2 separate regions of the Homo sapiens genome follow, and region 2 is linked to region 1. The links are contacts of gene promoters, found by promoter capture Hi-C in human tissues and cell types (Jung and others, 2019). All regions are on one chromosome and are shown on one strand. Each heading gives the region's core, a stretch centred on a gene start or on the middle of the fragment in contact. The rest is flanking DNA. Distances are from core to core; before and after follow the strand shown. Region 1 holds the start of HNRNPF (heterogeneous nuclear ribonucleoprotein F). Region 2 has its middle 70 kb from the start of LINC00839.

Region 1 (5,075 bases), core at 530-3,029:
TCCGCCGGGACACACGCGGAGCCGAGCGGGGGTCCCAGGCGCCTAGGGGGAGGGGTTCCCGCGCCCGGGGCGGCCTTGGGGGGAGGGCGAGTCGGGTGCCTTGCTCCTCAAAACCCTGGTCCACGACTCTGCGGTTGGGGGAGCCGGGCAGCCGGCGCAGCAGGAGCCGGGCCCCGTCCACAAGTTTCCTACGAGCAGGGCGGAATCGACGAAAATACTTAATACAAACAAACAAAAGGAAAAAAAAAAGGACGACTAAGCTGAAGAGCGCGCACGAGTCAGATTTTCACCCCAAATACAAACACGATACCTCTAGGAGCAGGAGACCAATACAGGGACCGCGCTCCGAGGACACGCGGCGCAGCCGAGGAGGAAAAAGGGCCCGGGGCCGAGAGCTAAGGCTACGGGAACCGGGCGTGGGAGGAGGGCGGAGCCAACTCCCCACAAGGAAGTCTTGTGCAACTCTCAGGCGCCTGCAGCCACGTGAGCGCGCGGCTTTCATTTTACTCAGGTATTATTACTATTATTACTTCTTTTGAGACAAGGTCTCATTTCCGTCGCCCGGCTGGAATGCAGTGGCACAATCACTGTCACTGCAGCCTCGACCTCAGAGCAAGCGACCCTCCCGCCTCAGCCTCCCGAGTAGCTGGGACAACAGGCGCGCGCCACCACACGTGGCTAATTTTTTTTTCTTTACTTTTCAGTAGAGACAGTCTATGTTGCCCAGGCTTGTCGGGAACTCCTGGGCTCAAGAGATCCTCCCGGCTGGGCCTCCCACTGCGCCAGGCCTGTTCTCACTTTCAGAGCCCTCCGGCAGTCGCCAGCTCCCCGCCAGGGGGCCGGACTAACGCACCCGGCCGTCCGTGCCTTCCCCGCGCTTTCCTGACTCCAAAATCTCAGCCCGCGGTGCTCACCGCGTGGGACCACTGTCTGGGCGTGCGGCTCTCGACCTCCGACGCTGCGTCTCCCGATCCCAGTGGGTCCAGTTCTTGCCGGTCCCACGTACGGGCCCCTCGACCTCGAATCCCGTCACCCAAATCTCAGCGCCACGGCCCCTCATTATGTGCAGTCCTCGCTCGGTCCCAGGTTTGCGGCGCTTAAACTCAGATCGCTCTTCCCTGATCCCAAATCCCAGCCCCAGCCCAACGATCCCCACCCCAATAGGCCCAGTCCCCAGGTAGTCCGGGTACGGGGCCCTGGACTTCGGATAGTCTCCCTAATCTCAAATCCCACCCCCCGTCCCCACCCCCAGGGGGACCCGGTCCCCGCTAGGTCCCGGGTGTGCGGCCTTCGACCTCGGAGACTTCGGCCGCCCCTCACCTCGGCCTCCGAGTCTCTACACTCCCGCTCTCATATCAGGCACCCCGGTGGTCCCTTGGAGCACCTAGAGGAGGGTGGGACGCGGGGAACTTGGCAGTTGTAGCAGAGGCAGTTGAGGCTTGTTGACCATCACCATGGAAACCCCCGCCTGCGAGCACGGGGCGGAGCCTACGAGGGGCGGGGTCAGGCGCGCTGCCGGCCCCAATCCTCAGCGCCTGCCCGTCGAGCGCACGCGGCTTTGCCGGAAGCCCTCCTGCTCCCGGCGAGCCAGGCCCCGACTAGGCCCTACTGCCCGGCTCAGCCCTTTGCCCTGGACACCAGGAAACAGAAGCCCAAGGAGCCCGCGTCCCCACCCCCTGCTACCTGCCGGCGTGACAGCGATTCGGTGGCCCCCCGAACCCCACCTTGAGGAAGACGCGGCGCAGTCCTGCTTCCACGACGGAGCCGGAAGGACGCAAGGACCGCGGCAGGGCGGAGTTTCTGCGTCCGGCGTCCGGGGGCGGGGCCGCGACGGCGCATTGTGACGCGCCAGAGCTGAGCCGCCGGTTGGCCGGCTGGGCGCGGAGCAGAGCCGACACGGCTGGCGGGGGAGGCGGTGGAGGCGGACAAGCGAGGACGTTTCTGGAGAGGAGAAGGGAGGGGAGGGGAGGGGATAGGGGGAGGGGGAGGAGGAGGAGGGAGTGGAGCGGCGGGAAAGATCCCTCTGACTGCCCCTGAGGCCCTGGAGGAAGGACACTGGTGAGCCCCGCAGGACACTGAAATGTGCGCCGAAAGGACGCCTGATGGAAGACTAGGATGGGAAAAGGAAATGAGAGCCGATGGCAGGGCGTGGTGGCGCAAGCCTGTGGTCCCAGTAATTTGGGAGGCTAAGGCGGGAGAATCGCTTGAGCCCGGGAGGTCGAGGCTGCAGTGATCCGTGACTGCTCCATTGCGTCCAGCCTGGGCGACAGAGCGAGGCGCTGTCTCAAAAAATAAAATAAGGAAAGTAGTACACTGAAGGCCGGGCGCGGTGGCTCACGCCTGTAATCCCACCACTTTGGGAGGCCGAGGCGGACGGATCAGGCGGTCGGGAAATCGAGACCATCCTGGCCAACATAGTGAAACCCCTACTAAAATACAAAAAAATTAGCCAGGCGTGGTGGCGCGCGCTTGTAGTCCCAGCCACTCGGGTGGCTGAGGCAGGGGAATCGCTTGAACCCGGGAGGCGGAGCTTGCGTGAGCCGAGATCGCGCCACTGCACTCCAGCCTAGCGACAGAGCGAGACTACGTCTCAAAGAAAAAAAAAAAAAAAAGGTACACTGAGTACTCCGGAGACCGCCTAAAGGGGTCTCAGAGCAGGGCGTTAGGAGGGATTTGTCAGGTTGAAGTTGCTCAGGTGATAAATTCCGTGGTGTGAGAAGCCCCCAAACCTCAGAATGTAACTCAGACCCAGGTCGAGGGCAAGATTTTCAGTCACAGAGCACCTGAACACACAGATTTGGTGGCTAATGGCTAAGCCAGGGACAGATTTTCTTTCTTTTCTTTTTTTTTTTGATGTATTGTAGGGCTAATAATTGTAACCATTTTATTTTGGTGGATCTTCTTCATGAAGAGATGATGTCAAGGCACTCATCACAGGTTAAGCTGAACATTGTTACTATTGTTATTATTTCCAGACTGAGTATCGCCCTGTCATTCAGGCGGGAGTGCAGTGGTACAATCACGGCTCACTGCAGCCTCGACCTCCTGGGCTCAAGCGATCCTCCTGCCTCAACCTCCTGAGTAGCACCACCACTCTCGGCTAAATTTTGTATTTTTTGTAGAGGCGAGGTTTCGCTGTGTTGCCCGGGCTGGTCGGGAACTCCTGGACTCAAGCCATCCGCCCACCTACGCCTCCCAGAGTGTTGGGATTACTGGATTGAGCCACGCATCTGGCTGAACGTTATTTTTTAAATCACCAGAGAAAGTAAAGGAGTGCTCAAAATAGTGTCAGATGATGAGTGGGATGATTGTGATGAAGGAAGGAGTTTGTTAAAAGAAAAAGCTAGTTCCAAGAAAGAGAATGGAAAGAGTAAAGCAGGAGCTGTCAGAATAGGTAAAAATGTCCAAAGAGAAAACTGCATAATTTGAGGCAAAATTACAGAAAATAGTTCCTGCAAAAATCAGATAGGTATTCAGCATCATAGGAAAGGGGCGAAAATCAGATAGGTAGGTATTCTTAAGAAGTTGTGGCCGGCCGGGCGCGGTGGCTCGCGCCTGTAATCCCAAGACTTTGGGAGGCCGAGGTGGGTGGATCACCTGAGGTTAGGCGTTTGAGACCAGCCTGGGCAACATGGCGAAACCCTGTCTCTACTAAAAATACAAAAAAAAATTAGCCGGGCGTGTTGGCGCGTACCTGTAGTCCCATCTACCCTGGAGGCTGAGGCAGGAGAATCGCTTGAATCCAGGAGGTGATGGTTGCAGTGAGCCGAGATTGCACCATTGCCCTCCAGCCTGGGTAACAAGAGCGAAACTCTGTCTCAAAAAAAAAAAAAAAGTCATACAGTGACTGCATCACAGCTCATGCTGTAGAAAGATGTTTCTGGAGAGAAAAATTCAAGTAGCCAATTTAAATCGAATATTAGGAAAATTAAACCAAAAGGGCTCACGCCTGTAATCCTAGCACTTTGGGAAGCCGAGTCAGGCGGATTACCTGAGGTCAGGAGTTCAAGACCATCCTGGCCAACATGGTGAAACCCTGTCTCTACTAAAAATACAAAAATTAGCCGGGCGTGGTGGCACATGCCTGTAATCTCAGCTACTCAGGAGGGTGAGGCAGGAGAATTGCTTGAGCCCAGGAGATGGAGGTTGCAGTGAGCCAAGATTTTGCCACTGCACTCTAGCCTGGCCGACAGAGCAAGACTCTGTCTCAAAAAAAAAAAAAGAAAGAAAATTAAACCAAAAGACTAGTAATGCTTCAGAAATTAGGGACTGTTAAACCAGCTGCAAGAAGATATATTCATGCAATCTTTGTATTAAGAGTCTCTCTGGCTGGGTGCGGTGACTCAGACCTGTAATCCCAGCACTTTGGGAGGCCAAGGCCAGTGGATTGCTTGAGCCCTGGAGTTCAAGACCAGCCTGGGGAACATAGTGAGACCCAGTCTGTATTTTAAAAGTTAAAAAAAAAAAAAAGCCTCTAAGCTAAGTGGACCTTTGATCCCCTCACTCAAATTTGACAGTTCTCCATTATTCATAAATGAGGTAATAGTTGTTGGAGACGGTCTTCTCTGAATGCAAGACTAGTACTTTGGCCTGATTATAGAACTTCCTGCCGTCCTAAGGAGTCATCCCAGGTGTCCACTATATCTTTTTCAGCATTGAGTACCAGCACAGTCACATGTAGGCTTTATCCCACAGTGAAGACTTGGCATCACTCAGAATGATGCCACAGGTCCTAGGCCTTTTCCACACTGGGCTCACTTCACCAACTCGCAAATGCTCATCCACACCTGGTCCACCTGGACTACCTCCTTATCTGTAGCCCTTTCACCTCTGTGTCCATAGAAATGTCTTACCTAAGCTCTGAAATCTAAACATTCAGAGAGCACCTTGATGCTTGAGAGCATCTACACAGAGATGAACCTTTAAGATCTATGGTTTAAAACAATTGAATTCCAAGATGTTGCCCCTTACAGACTGACCTGCCTGATTATTTCCTGTTGTTTATGTACATTGATTATTATCAAAAACTTAATACTTTATTTTTTTTGAGACGGAGTCTCGCTCTGTCGCCCAGG
Region 2 (4,577 bases), core at 687-3,186, 860 kb before region 1:
ATTTCTGTGTATGTGTATGTACACATACATACATGTATTTCCTATCTCTGTCAATTGAGAGGGTCTGAGGCAGTGACAGCCTCTAGCAATGAGCACCCAGATCTTGGTTTTTAAATTCCATCCTCCACTAGAAAGAACAATGTCCTTTGGAGAAATGGCTGATGGCAAAGGTAGTGCAGGAAAAGGACAAGATGGGCCAGGCATATCTGTTGTGCCACAGAGTAATTACTCAAAAATTGATGTGGGAAGCAGGCTGAAAATGGAATAGGTAATTCCAAAATTCCATCCCAAACTAAAGCAACAATTAAGCTGGAAAAACAAAAAAAACCCTCTCAGCATCAAGCTTTTCAGAATTCTCCAATCTAATTAAAAACCTAGTAAGCCCAGAACATTTCTGGCGTGGCTTGCTGATGCCTGTGCCAAAGTGGACAGTATGCACTTTGTTTTCAGAGAACTGTAGTTGTGTGTTTTGATCTGTCTATGCGGGCTCTCTGAAGAAGTGGCTCACAGGCTTGTCTTTGTTTTGCCTGCCTTGGAACTTTCTCAGGGCTAGTCTTCCAGGAAGTGCTAGTTGAAAGCATTTAAAGGCAATTATCTGGCCTCAGCAGCCAGATGAGAAAAGCAGCAGATGGACTGATAAAACTGGGAGTGGAAAAACTGGGAAGGAAATACATGGGGGCCGGGGTGGGGATAAGGGGTTTGAAAAGCTCCTGCATAAACCAGGGAATTGAGGTCATGTGCAAGGCCAGGGCAATATGCACGCTCACAAAAAACCTGAGAGGAACCTAAGCTTTCAGTCTGGTTGACCTTCAGGCTCAGTGTAAGCAGGAAGTAAAGCTTTACACAGAGATGTAAATGGCCTGGCAAACCATTACAAGAGCGCCCTAAAACAGGGCAAATATGCAAAGACCAGAATAGTTTTTTGTTTTGTTTTGGCTTTGGGCATTTAAAGAAATCTCTGTCAGATCACAAACTGACCACTAAACTAAGGGAACAGAGGTTTCTGTGACCATGTACAACAAAGAACTTTACAAAAATAGTTTTGAAAAGTCACAAAATAAACAAACAATGCAAAATAAACAGCAACAACAAATTCTGGGGAAAAGAATCTGATTTCTAGAATTAACACATTTTAATATTCAAAATGTTCAGTTTTCAATAAAAAATTATGAGGAATGCAAAGAAGATAATATGACCCACAGACACACAGAAAAAAGAAATGAATAAAACCTGTCCTCAAAGACACCTTTGTTATTGGTCTTACTAGATAAAGAATTTAAATCAACTGTTCTAAATGTGCACAAAAAGCTAAATGAAACCAGACAACTAACAGAAAGCAGGTGAGCGATGCCCTGCCAAATATAAAATATTAATATACAGAACAAAATTACAAAAATGTAATTAGGAATGTCTGGAGCTGACAAGTACAAAAACTAAATTTTTTTAAAATCAGTCAAAGGATTTAATAAAAGATTGGAGCTCAAAGAGAACAAAGAATCAGCAAAATTGAAGACACTGATGGAGATTACTCATTCTGTGGAGCAGAGAAAAAGAATGGTGAAAAATGGACAGTGCCTAAGAGATCTATGAGACAACATCAAGCATACCAACAAGTTAATAACAAGAGTTGCTAATGAAGAGGAGAAAAGGGAACCAAAAATATCTGAAGAAATAATGTCTGAAGACCTTCTAAACTGATGAAAGACATGAATCTCTATGCCCAAGACTCTCAAGAAACTATAATTAGGATAAGCTCAAAGAACTTCAAACTGAGAGAAATAATAAATTGTCACAAGACAAAGAATCTCAAAAGTAGCAAGAGATAAGGGACTAACCATGTACAAAGGATCTGAAATAAGATTAACAGCCAGACTTTTATTAGGAACCATGAAGGCCAGAGGCAGTAGGATAATGGCACCTTTCAAGTGCCAAAAGAAAAAAAATATATATCAAAAATTCTACATTTGGCAAAACTGCCTTTCAAAAATGAAAGAGAAATTAAAACATTCCTAGATCAACAGAATCTGAGAGAATTTATTAGTACTAGATCTGTCCTACAAGAAATGCAAAAGGAAGTCCTTAAGGTTGAAACAAAAGGACATTAGACAGTAACTCCAATCGAAACACACAAAAAATTCAAATGGTAAAAGTAACTACTGTAAGTAAATGCAAAAGCCAGTCTTATTGTATTCTTGGCTTTTATGTTCTCTCTTTTTTCTATATGATTTAAAAGACAAATACATAAAACAATAATTATAAATCTATGGTAATGTGCACGCTATTTATGAAGGCATAAAATGAGACAATAAGAAGACAAAGGACAGGGACAAAGCCGTATAGGAGGAGAGTTTTTATATAATATTAAGGCTTAGTTAGTATTAATGCAAGCTAGATTGTTATAAATTCAAGATGCTAATTGCAATTCCAAGTATTAACACTAGGTAAATAATGACTACAAACAAATACAAAAGGAATTAAAATGGCACATTAGAAAAAAACAAACACAAAAGAAGGCATACACAGAAAAACTGAAAACAAAAAAGATGTAATACGTATGGAAAACAAATAGCAAAATGGTATAAGTCCTTTATCAGTTTATAATTTACTCTAAATGTAAATAAACTAAACTCCCAACTAAAAGACAGAAATTGGCAAAATAGGCTGGGCATGGTGGCTTACACCTGTAATCCCAGCACTTTGGGAGGCTGAGGTGGGCGGATCACGAGGTCAGGAGTTTGAGACCAGCCTGACCAATACAGTGAAACCCCATCTCTACTAAAAAAAAAAAAAAAATACAAAAATTAGCCAGGTGTAGTGGTGTACACCTGTAATCCCAGCTACTCGGGAGGCTGAGGCAGAAGAACTGCTTGAACGCTGGAGGCAGAGGTTGCAGAGAGTCAAGATCGCACCACTGCACTCCAGCCTGGGTGATGCAGTAAGACTCTGTCTCAAAAAAAAAATAAAATAAAATAAATAATAAAAATAAAAATAAATTGGCAAAATAAATAAAAATATATGATCCAGGTATATATTGTCTACAAGACACTCTCTTTAGATACAAACACACAACACAATAGGTTGAAATTGAAATGACAGAAGAGGATAGTAACCTAAAGAATGCCAGGGTGGCTATACTGAGACAAAAGAGACTTTAAATCAAAAATTGTTACAAGAGAAAAACACTACATATTGATTAAAAAAAAAAAAAAACTAAGTCTACAAAGAAGACATAGTAACAGAAATAGAAATAAATCATCCTGAAGTTTACATAGAATTTCAAGGGATCTCAACTAGCCAAAATAATCTTGAAAACCCATGCATGTATGGTAAAATGATTTTCAACAAAGTTGTCAAGAACAGTCAATAGGGAAAGGACAATTTTTCTAACAAATAGTGTTGGTAAAACTGGATAGCCACATGCAAAACAAAACAAAAACAAAAAAATTAACTCAAAATGAATCAAAGACCTAAATCTAAGAACTAAAGGTACAAAACTCATGGCAGAACACATAGGAGAATGGATTCGTGTGGCAATGTTTTCTTGGATATAATACCAAAAACCACAGGCAACAGAAATAAAAATAAATTGGACCACATCAAACTTAAAAATTGTGCATCAAAGGACACAGTTAACTGAATGAAAAGACAACCAACACAACAGGAGGAAATATTTGCAATTCATGTATCTGATGAGGAATTAATATAAAAAATATATAAAGAACCCCTACAACTCAAAACAAACAAAATAACCTGATTCAAAGATGGACAAAGGATTTGAACAGACATTTCTCCATTAAAGATATATAAATGGTCAGCAAGCTTATGAAAATATGCTCAACATCACTGATCATTAGGGAAATACAAATCAAAACCACAGTGAAAAATTACCATACACCCATTACAATGGCTGCTATCAAAACAACAAAAGAAAATAACGAGTGTTGGCAAGGATATGGAGAAATCAGAATCCTGTACACTGAGGATGGGACTGTAAAATGGTGCACCTTCTGTAGAAAACAGGTCGGTGTTTCCTCAAGGAATTAAAAATAGAATTACCATAGGTTCCAGCCATACCACTTCTGAGTATATAACCAAAAGAACTGAAAGAAGGATCTCAAAGAATAGTTGTACCCCATGTTCACAGTAGCATTATTCACAACAGTTAAAAGGAGGAAGGAACCCAAATGTCCACTGACAGATGAATGAATAAACAAAACATGGGTACAATGAAATATCATTCAACATCAGAAAGGAGATAAATTCTGACACATGCTACAACACTGAGGAAGCTTGAGGACATTACGCTAGGTGAAATAAGCCAGTCACAATAAGACAAATACTGTATGATTTCACTTATATGAGATATAGCAAAAATAGTGAAACTCATAGAAACAGAAAGTAGGATGGTGGTTGCCAGGGGCAAGGAGGAGGGGAAAATGGGGAGTTATTGTTTAATGGGTAGAGAATTTCAATTTCCCAAGATGAAAAAATTCTGGTGATTAGATGTACAATATGAATATACTTAACACTGCTTCTGAACTGTACATCCAAAAATAGTTAAGATTGCTAAAGCAAAA

The links. The method cuts DNA at HindIII sites, captures the fragments that hold promoters and counts their contacts. A contact is called where the count stands out against the background at its distance.
Region 2: a contact is called between a fragment that was not itself captured here and the fragment with the promoter of HNRNPF in region 1, in 1 of the 25 tissues and cell types used here (dorsolateral prefrontal cortex).

Annotation. Positions count from the first base shown.
Region 1 is chr10:43,407,407-43,412,481 of GRCh38, forward strand. It overlaps HNRNPF (heterogeneous nuclear ribonucleoprotein F), which reads right to left and starts at 1,780. Exons shown (of 4, transcript NM_001098204.2): 1 at 1,725-1,780. RefSeq lists silencers at 1-119, 1,400-1,519, 1,970-2,199 and enhancers at 290-349, 490-539, 507-1,110, 550-889, 1,620-1,679. The HindIII fragment of the contact is 13,159 bases long and covers 1-2,034 here.
Region 2 is chr10:42,543,456-42,548,032 of GRCh38, forward strand. It overlaps the pseudogene ZNF37BP. Among named protein-coding and RNA genes, the nearest start is that of LINC00839, 70 kb to the left of the region's middle. The HindIII fragment of the contact is 4,235 bases long and covers 1-4,054 here.